Regions from separate parts of the Homo sapiens genome. Here region 2 is linked to region 1. Evidence: promoter capture Hi-C in 16 types of primary human blood cells and fetal thymus (Javierre and others, 2016). All regions are on one chromosome and are shown on one strand. The core of a region is centred on a gene start or on the middle of the fragment in contact, and the rest is flanking DNA. Distances in the headings are between cores, read along the strand shown.

What was found. The method cuts DNA at HindIII sites, captures the fragments that hold promoters and counts their contacts. A CHiCAGO score of 5 or more calls a contact.
Region 2: a fragment that was not itself captured here is called in contact with the fragment with the promoter of ARMC12 in region 1 in 8 of 17 cell types (naive CD4 T cells, non-activated CD4 T cells, activated CD4 T cells and 5 more); the score reaches 14.1 in naive CD4 T cells.

The regions. Positions count from the first base shown.
Region 1 is chr6:35,734,768-35,738,654 of GRCh38, forward strand. It overlaps ARMC12 (armadillo repeat containing 12), which reads left to right and starts at 2,265. Exons shown (of 6, transcript NM_001286574.2): 1 at 2,265-2,504; 2 at 3,260-3,405; 3 at 3,617-3,751. The coding sequence starts at 2,342. LOC285847 (a long non-coding RNA gene) reads right to left here and starts at 2,180. Exons shown (of 10, transcript NR_027117.2): 1 at 2,074-2,180; 2 at 996-1,111; 3 at 313-597. RefSeq lists enhancers at 2,545-3,153, 3,154-3,762. The HindIII fragment of the contact is 11,422 bases long and covers 1-3,711 here.
Region 2 is chr6:35,624,937-35,628,823 of GRCh38, forward strand. All of the region lies in intron 3 of FKBP5 (FKBP prolyl isomerase 5), which reads right to left. Among named protein-coding and RNA genes, the nearest start is that of MIR5690, 38 kb to the right of the region's middle. The HindIII fragment of the contact is 3,458 bases long and covers 88-3,545 here.

The sequences.
Region 1 (3,887 bases), core at 1,015-3,514:
CTCCAACCTGGGTGACAGAGTGAGAACCTGTCTCAAAAAAAAGAAAAAAAAAAAAGAAAGAAAACAATTATTCCCAAGAAAAGATGGTCAATGGACTTTATGCCAACAAATAGACATTCCTTTGTCTTTAATTTTTTTGTTGTACTGTGGACTAGTAAAAATGTCACTCTAGGAATGACTCTGCCTCTAATCTCTCTGAATCATTTGAAGGCAGAACCAGAAGAAATGGGCCTTAGGTGTGGCAGGAGGGAGTTAGGTTGCAGCCAAGAAAGAACACTTTTTGGAGGTCTTTAAAGAACAGGTGAGCCTTACCTGTGCTTAGGAAGTGAGGGTTGCAGAATCGGCTCCATGGGATGGAGGGGCCAGTAACTCTGGGTCCCACCCTGGAGAAGGGCAGAGCAAGGACCTTGTCTTGAGGGATTTATTCTCAGATCCACCAAAGTAGCCTGGGAACCTAAATGACAGTTCCCATCAGGCAGCCGTTTTCTGCTCGGAGTTCAGTGGAGATGCGATGGGGTTGCATGGCAGTGGGGAGGCTTCCATGGGCTTCTACTCACCCCTCACCACAGGGAGTTCATGTAGTCACCCACCTTGGGGCTAAATAGAGTGCCAGGAATGATGACCCTTGAGGAGGGCTGAGGACAGGAATAGAATGGCCACCCAGGAGTGTTGCTTGTTCCCTGCCTGCTGCCTAGGGTGTACTGGGCCAAGGCTCTGAGTGGGCAGGCCTGGCTGGCCGCAGCATCATTGGAGATGCTGTTTCCCTACCTCCTTCCATCCTGGGTGCAGCCCAGGACCCAGAGCCTTCTGTCCCAGTTCTCCCAAAAAGGGATCAGGGCCAGGTAGGTGAACACCTGTTCTGGTGCAGCATGCTCAGCACTGGCTGTGGGCGTGGCCCTAGTTTGGAGCTGGCCACTTGCCTGTTCTGCAACAGAGAGTGGGGACAGAAGTTGCGGGGAGACCCTGGTGGGGAAGAGGGAAGGGTCTGGTCTCACCTGCCCCATCCTAGTGGTGGGGATCAAGACCTCCACAGGTGGGCTCACATCCTCTGGGGTGGTGGCATCTTCTGACTCCAGAGGACCTCACAAGCCGCCTCATATCCCTGGGGAGGCTGAGAGGTGATACTTCCAAATTTAGCTGAAAGGCACAGACTTACCCACATTTTAATCCTGGAGTTTTAGAATGGTAAATCCGAATCCCTTTAGGTTACAAATGCAGAAACAGACTAAGGCAAAGGCGATCCCTTTCTCCTCCAAGGTCACTCTGGTTAGAAGGGTCTGGAGCCCCAGTTACTAGATGCTGTCATTGTTCTGCCGCCAAGTCCTTAAAGAATGGCAGAACATGACTTAAACCACCTGCTAAGTACAAGATTCTATGCTGGAGATGCAAAGGTAGCTGTCCTCAAGAGCACTTTGTCAAACAGGTAAACTTCAGGGCAACATGCAGATGCTGGAAAAGGGTGGATTTGCCTCAAGAGTCTGTGCATGCTTTCTAAGATACTCCCCTCCTTTTCATCCTCTGATGCGGGGAGGGAACCCTACCTGAAGAAACACCCCAAGGCCCAGGGGTAGATCTAGGGTGGAGAGATCACATATGGGAGGGCCCGGAAAGAAAAGGAACAGGGTTGTCAATGGGCATACCCCAAACACCTCACCCAGAAATGCCCTAAGGCCCCAGCCCGGAAATGGACCTCTGCTGCCCTCTAATGGTGGAAAGGCAGCCTCTGGAGCTACCTGCTGGGGTCCCCCCTTAAAGAAGAGGAGATGTGAAGGACACTTCTGCCCTCTCCCCTTTTATTCCCCTTCTGTCTTATGCTTCATCTCCTGTGGTCTCTAAAGCAGAACCTTCTCTTTTTTTTTTTGAAATGGAGTCTTGCTCTGTCGCTTAGGTTGGAGTACAGTGGCGTGTCAGCTCACTGCAACCTCAACCTCCCAGGCTTAAGCGATTCTCCTGCCTCAGTCCCCTGAGTAGCTGGGATTACATGTGTGCGCCACAATGCCTGGCTAATTTTTTTGTATTTTTAATAGAGACAAGGTTTCACCATATTGGCCAGGCTGGTCTCGAACTGCTGACCTCAAGTGATCTGCCTGCCTTGGCCTCCCAAAGTGCTGGGATTACAAGTGTGGGCCATGGTGCCTGGCCCCATCTGTTCTCGAGCACTCCTGGCTGCCCCATTTCCTGACCACTGCCCTCCATCCCATTATCTCCCCAGTTTCCTTTGTTGCCTAGGTTCCAATTCTGGTACCCTGGTTCCTGACCCTGCCAGAGTTCTGGTTCCGGAAGGCCCCCCACAGGTGCCTTGGGCCTAGCTCTCACCTGGGCCCAGGGCAACACTGAAGACATGGGCAAGAGCATCCCCCAATACCTGGGGCAACTGGACATCCGCAAAAGCGTAGTCAGCCTGGCCACAGGCGCCGGGGCGATCTACCTGCTCTACAAGGCCATCAAGGCTGGCATAAAATGCAAACCACCCCTCTGTAGCAACTCACCCATCTGCATCGCCCGTGAGTGTCCGGGCCCTGGGGAGAGGGCTCTGCCCCAGGAGGCACCTGCTCCCGAGGCCTCTGCTGTGGGAGGGCCCAAAGGTGATGCCTCCAAGTTCCTCTTTCCTTTGTCTTTCTCTTGTCCATCTTCCTCAAGCCCACCCTGCAGCGTCCTAGGCAAGGCCCTGCCAGAGATGCTAGCTCAGGGTCCCTGGATCTCACTCAAGTGGATCCTCAGACTCATCTGGCAGGTCTCCAAATACTACATTTCCTCTGGCTCCCAGGATTCCACTTCTTGGAAACTTGGTGTCGGCAGCTCCCCCCATCCCTTTTCTGCCCTAGGAACGTGAGGCTTTAAGGAAAGGGAAGATTGGAGGACTTACTATATGCCCAGAGCTTCCACTAGTCCACATGTTCTTTTGTGCAGAGTAGGAAAATGAGCCCCTTCTGCAAGACTCTTTATTGCCATCTGCTGGAATATCATTGCCACATACTGGTTATGATGAAATACTACTTGTTACCGCCATATGCCAGACAGTTGTTAGAGTAAATGGACAAATCTATGATGGTACGTTATGGACAATACAACATTAGATAGGGTGCCCTTGTGCAGTAAACATTCGTTCAACTGTACATGGTGGTCCTGCATATGGCGAGAAGGCTTCTCCGAAAAGGCAAGGCAGCCTTGTCCCCAAGTCCCTGTCCCCTACTTCCCAACCCCATTCTTTCATCACTTCTGAGTCCACAGCCTGAACTGGGCTGGGGTGGCTGTCTAGGCCTGGCAGTCGAGCGAGAGCGGCACGGGCGGGACTCAGGTGAGCTCCGGAGGCTCCTCAACTCTTTGGAGTGCAAACAGGATGAGTATGCCAAGAGCATGATCCTGCACAGTATCACTCGCTGTGTGTACTTGCTGGAGGCTGAGGTAAGGGAAGCAGGAGGTCCCCCCTAGCCGGCCTGGCCCCTGGGGGTTACGGCCGATCCCTGCCCCTGGAATGGCCAGACTATATCCTGGGACCTCTCTCTGGCTGATAGCGGTGGGGGGGGGGTGTGCGGAGGGATCTTGGTGACATGGGGGGCAGTGGGCCCAGAACACCCGCTTCTCCTGCCTCTTCCATCTCTCCCCAATACTCCAGGCCTCTGCTTGTACTACGGATGACATCGTGTTGCTGGGCTACATGCTGGATGACAAGGACAACAGTGTCAAAACCCAAGCTCTGAATACACTTAAAGCTTTCTCTGGCATCAGAAAATTCAGGCTCAAAATCCAGGTGAGCCCAGGGATGCGTGGTGGGGCATGCAGGATGTCTATAGTCCTTAAGTCCTTTAATTGCCATAGGATAAATGGTCATGTTCCAGAAGTTTGTTTGGGTGTGAATTTGTAACCCAGAAATAAGTGGGAAAACG
Region 2 (3,887 bases), core at 567-3,066, 110 kb before region 1:
ACACCACAGAACAAGAAACCAGTTGTATCATTCAGTATATATGCAAACAGAATGGAGAGCATCAATTAGTCTGGAGAGGGTTAAGCAAGCTTCTACACATTTCCTTAGGTTAAATTCCTAGATGTAGAATTACTGGACCAAAAACATAAATATTTTCTTCTTTTTGAGACACGGTCTCACTTTGTTGCCCAGGCTGGAGTGCAGTGGCACGATCTTGGCTCATTGCAACCTCTGCCTCCTGGGTTCAAGCAATTCTCGTGCCTCAGACTCCCAAGTAGCTGGGATTACAGGCACGTGCCACTACGCTTAGGTAATTTTTGTATTTTTTGGTAGAGACAGGGTTTCACCACGTTGGTCAGGCTGGTCTCAAACTCCTGACCTCAAGTGGTCTGCCCACCTCGGCCTCCCGAAGTGCTGGGATTACAGGTGTGAGTCACCATGCCCAACCCCCAAAGCATAAACATTTTAAAGATTCTTCATCTTCAGGATCTCAGTCATAGGTAACATACACCAAGAATAGGCCGGTGCAGTGGCTCACGCCTGTAATCTCAGCACTTTGGGAGGATGAGGTGGGCAGATCACGAGGTCAGAGGATTGAGACCATCCTGGCTAACACGGTGAAATCCCGTCTCTACTAAAAATACAAAAAATTAGCCGGGCGTGGTGGTGAGTGCCTGTAGTCCCAGCTACTCGGGAGGCTGAGGCAGGAGAATGGCGTGAACCCGGGAGGCGGAGCTTTCAGTGAGCCGAGATTGCGCCACTGCACTCCAGCCTGGGCGACAGAGCAAGACTCCGTCTCAAAAAAAAACACACCAAGAATACATAATGTCAATTTATTTATTTATTTATTTATTTATTTTTGAGATGGAGTCTCGCTCTGTCGCCCAGGCTGGGGTGCAGTGGCGCTATCTCTGCTCACCGCAAGCTCCGCCTCCCGGGTTCACGCCATTCTCCTGCCTCAGCCTCCCGAGTAGCTGGGACTACAGGCGCTAGCCACCACTCCTGGCTAATTTTTTGTATTTTTAGTAGAGATGGAGTTTCATCGTGTTAGCCAGGATGGTCTCGATCTCCTGACCTCGTGATCCGCCTGCCTCAGCCTCCCAAAGTGCTGGGATTACAGGCGTGAGCCACCGTGCCTGGCCACGTCAATTTATTCTTACACTTGATCTGGACTTCAGTTTTACTAGCTTATACACAATTTATCAATTTCAGGAGTCTTATTCCATTTGTAATAAAATATAAAACAAGAATATATATGTATACAAATGTATAATATAGCTATTACTAAATTTAAATGCTTTTTATACGTATGTAACTATAGGCAGGTGAAAAAGTTTAAAAGCATACAAAGCCCAGTATAAAAGCAATGCATTATACTTTTTCTTCCTTCTGTAATGTTACACTTTTTTCTGGTTTAAAAAAATTATATAACATATTTTAAGATACAACATTTTAATCACTTAACAGTTTCATTTATAGTAAAGACTATAGTGACCACTTCAGAACATTCTGACTACATAATGTTTTCTCCTTGAGTTTTAAAAAAAACGCTTAATTGTGGGGGGATAAAAAAAAGCATTTACCATCTTAGCTATTTTAAAGTGCACAGTTCACTATTTTTAAGTATATTCACATTGTTGTGCAACCAATCTCCAGAACTTTTTCATCTTGCAAAACTAAAATTTTATACCCATTAAGCATTTCCTCCTTCCCTAATCTTTGGCAACTTCTATTCTACTTTGTTTTTATGAATTTGACTACTCTGGATAGATAACTCATATAAGTGGAATCAGACAGTACTTTTCTTTTTGTCACTGGATTACTTCACTTAGTATAATGCCCTCAAGGTTCGTCCATGTTGTAGCATCTGCCAGAATTTTTCTTTAAAACGTAAATATTCCACTGTACGTTTATATCACATTTTGTTTATCTATTCATCTATTGAAGGACACTTGAGTTGCTTCCACCTTTTGGTTGCTGTTAATAATGCTGCTACAAACATGAGTGTACAAATATCTCTTCAAGACCCTGCTTTCAATTCTGTTGGTTATATGCCCACAAGTAGAACTGCTAGATCAACATGGTAACTCTATTTTTAATTTTTTGAGGAACTTCCATACCGTTTTCCACAGCAGCTGCACTATTTTACATTCCCACCAACAGCGCATAAGGGTTCCAATTTCTCTACATCCTCATCAACACTTGTTGTTTTCTCTTTTTTTAACAGTACCCATTCTAACCGGTATGAGGGTAATACTTCACTGTGGTTTTGACTTGCATTTCCCTAATGATTAGTGATGTTGAACATCTTTTCATATGCTTGTTGTCCATTTTTATATCTTCTTTGGAGAAATTTCAAGCCCTTTGCCCAGTTTTTAAAAAGTTTTTAGAGACAGGGTATCGCTATGTTGCCCAGACTGGTCTTGAACTCCTGGCGTCTAAGTGACCCTCCCACCTAGGTCTCCCAAAATGCTGGGATTACAGGTATGGCCACTGCAACTGGTCCTTTACCCATTTTTAAATTGGGCTATTTTGTTGTTTTTGTTGAGTTATAGGAGTTGTTTGTGTATTCTGGGTATTAATCCCTTATCAGATATAAGATTTGCAAACATTTTTCTCCCATTCCATAGGCTGCCTTTCATTCTGTTACTGTTTGATGCACAAAAGTTTTTAATTTTGATGTATTCTAATTTATGTTTAATTTATGATGTACAGTAATTTATGTTTAATTGTTTTACTTTTGTTGCCTGTACTTTTGATGTCATGCCAAGAAACCACTGCAAAATCCAATGTCATGAAGCCTTTCCTCCATATTCTTTATCTTTTCTTTTTTCTTTTTTTTGAGACATAGTTTCGTTCTTGTTGCCTAGGCTGGAGTGCAATGGTGTGATCTTGGCTCACTGCAACTTCTGCCTCCCGGGTTCAAGCGATTCTCCTGCCTCCACCTCCCAAGTAGCTGGGATTATAGGCATGCGCCACCATGCCCAGCTAATTTTTTTTTTTTTTTTTTTTTTTAGTAGAGACGGGGTTTCACCATATTGGTCAGGGCTGGTCTTGAATTCCTAACCTCAGGTGATCCGCCCGCCTCGGCCTCCCAAAGTGCTGGCATTACAGGTGTGAGCCACTGTGCCCGGCCTTCCTCCATATTCTTATGGGAAGGTTTCTAATGCAAGGTTTAGATCTTGCATTTAGGTCTTTGATCCATTTTGAGTTAATTTTTGCAGATGGTGTAAGATAAGGACCCAATTTCATTCTTTTACATGTGGATATCTAGCTTTTCCAACACCATTTGTTGAAAAGACTGTTCTTTCTCCCACTGAATGGTCTTGGCACCCTTGTTGAAAAATCACTACCTTTTAAATGTACATTTACATTTGAATATGAGCATCTTGAACACACTATAGGATGAAAGCTACACCATATCATACAGAAAAAAAATTACTTTTTCATATGGGAGTAGAAAAGAACAAGAAAGGTAAATATTTTAACTGTAAAAGATTTCCTTTCAAAATATAAAAGCTGACAAACAAGGTTAATCACTAATAAGCTTCAGGTAATAAAAATGCATCTGATTCATTCCTGCTTCACCTTCCTTGAGGGATTCCTAGGACTCAGTACCAATTTCTGATCTCTATTTTAACTACTTGCATATTCTGCTAATTTTTATGTTAAAAATAAGAAAAACCTCATATAACAGATAATACAGAAATCCTTTCTTCTTTTTATACTAAATAAAGCAAATTATTTTTCCTGTATACCTTTTCCTCATATATTTTAGGTTTTTTTGTTTTTGTTTTTTTGAGATGGAATCTTGCTCTGTCGCCCAGGCTGGAGTGCAATGGCACAATCTCGGCTTACTGCAACCTCCACTCCCAGGCTCAAGTGAT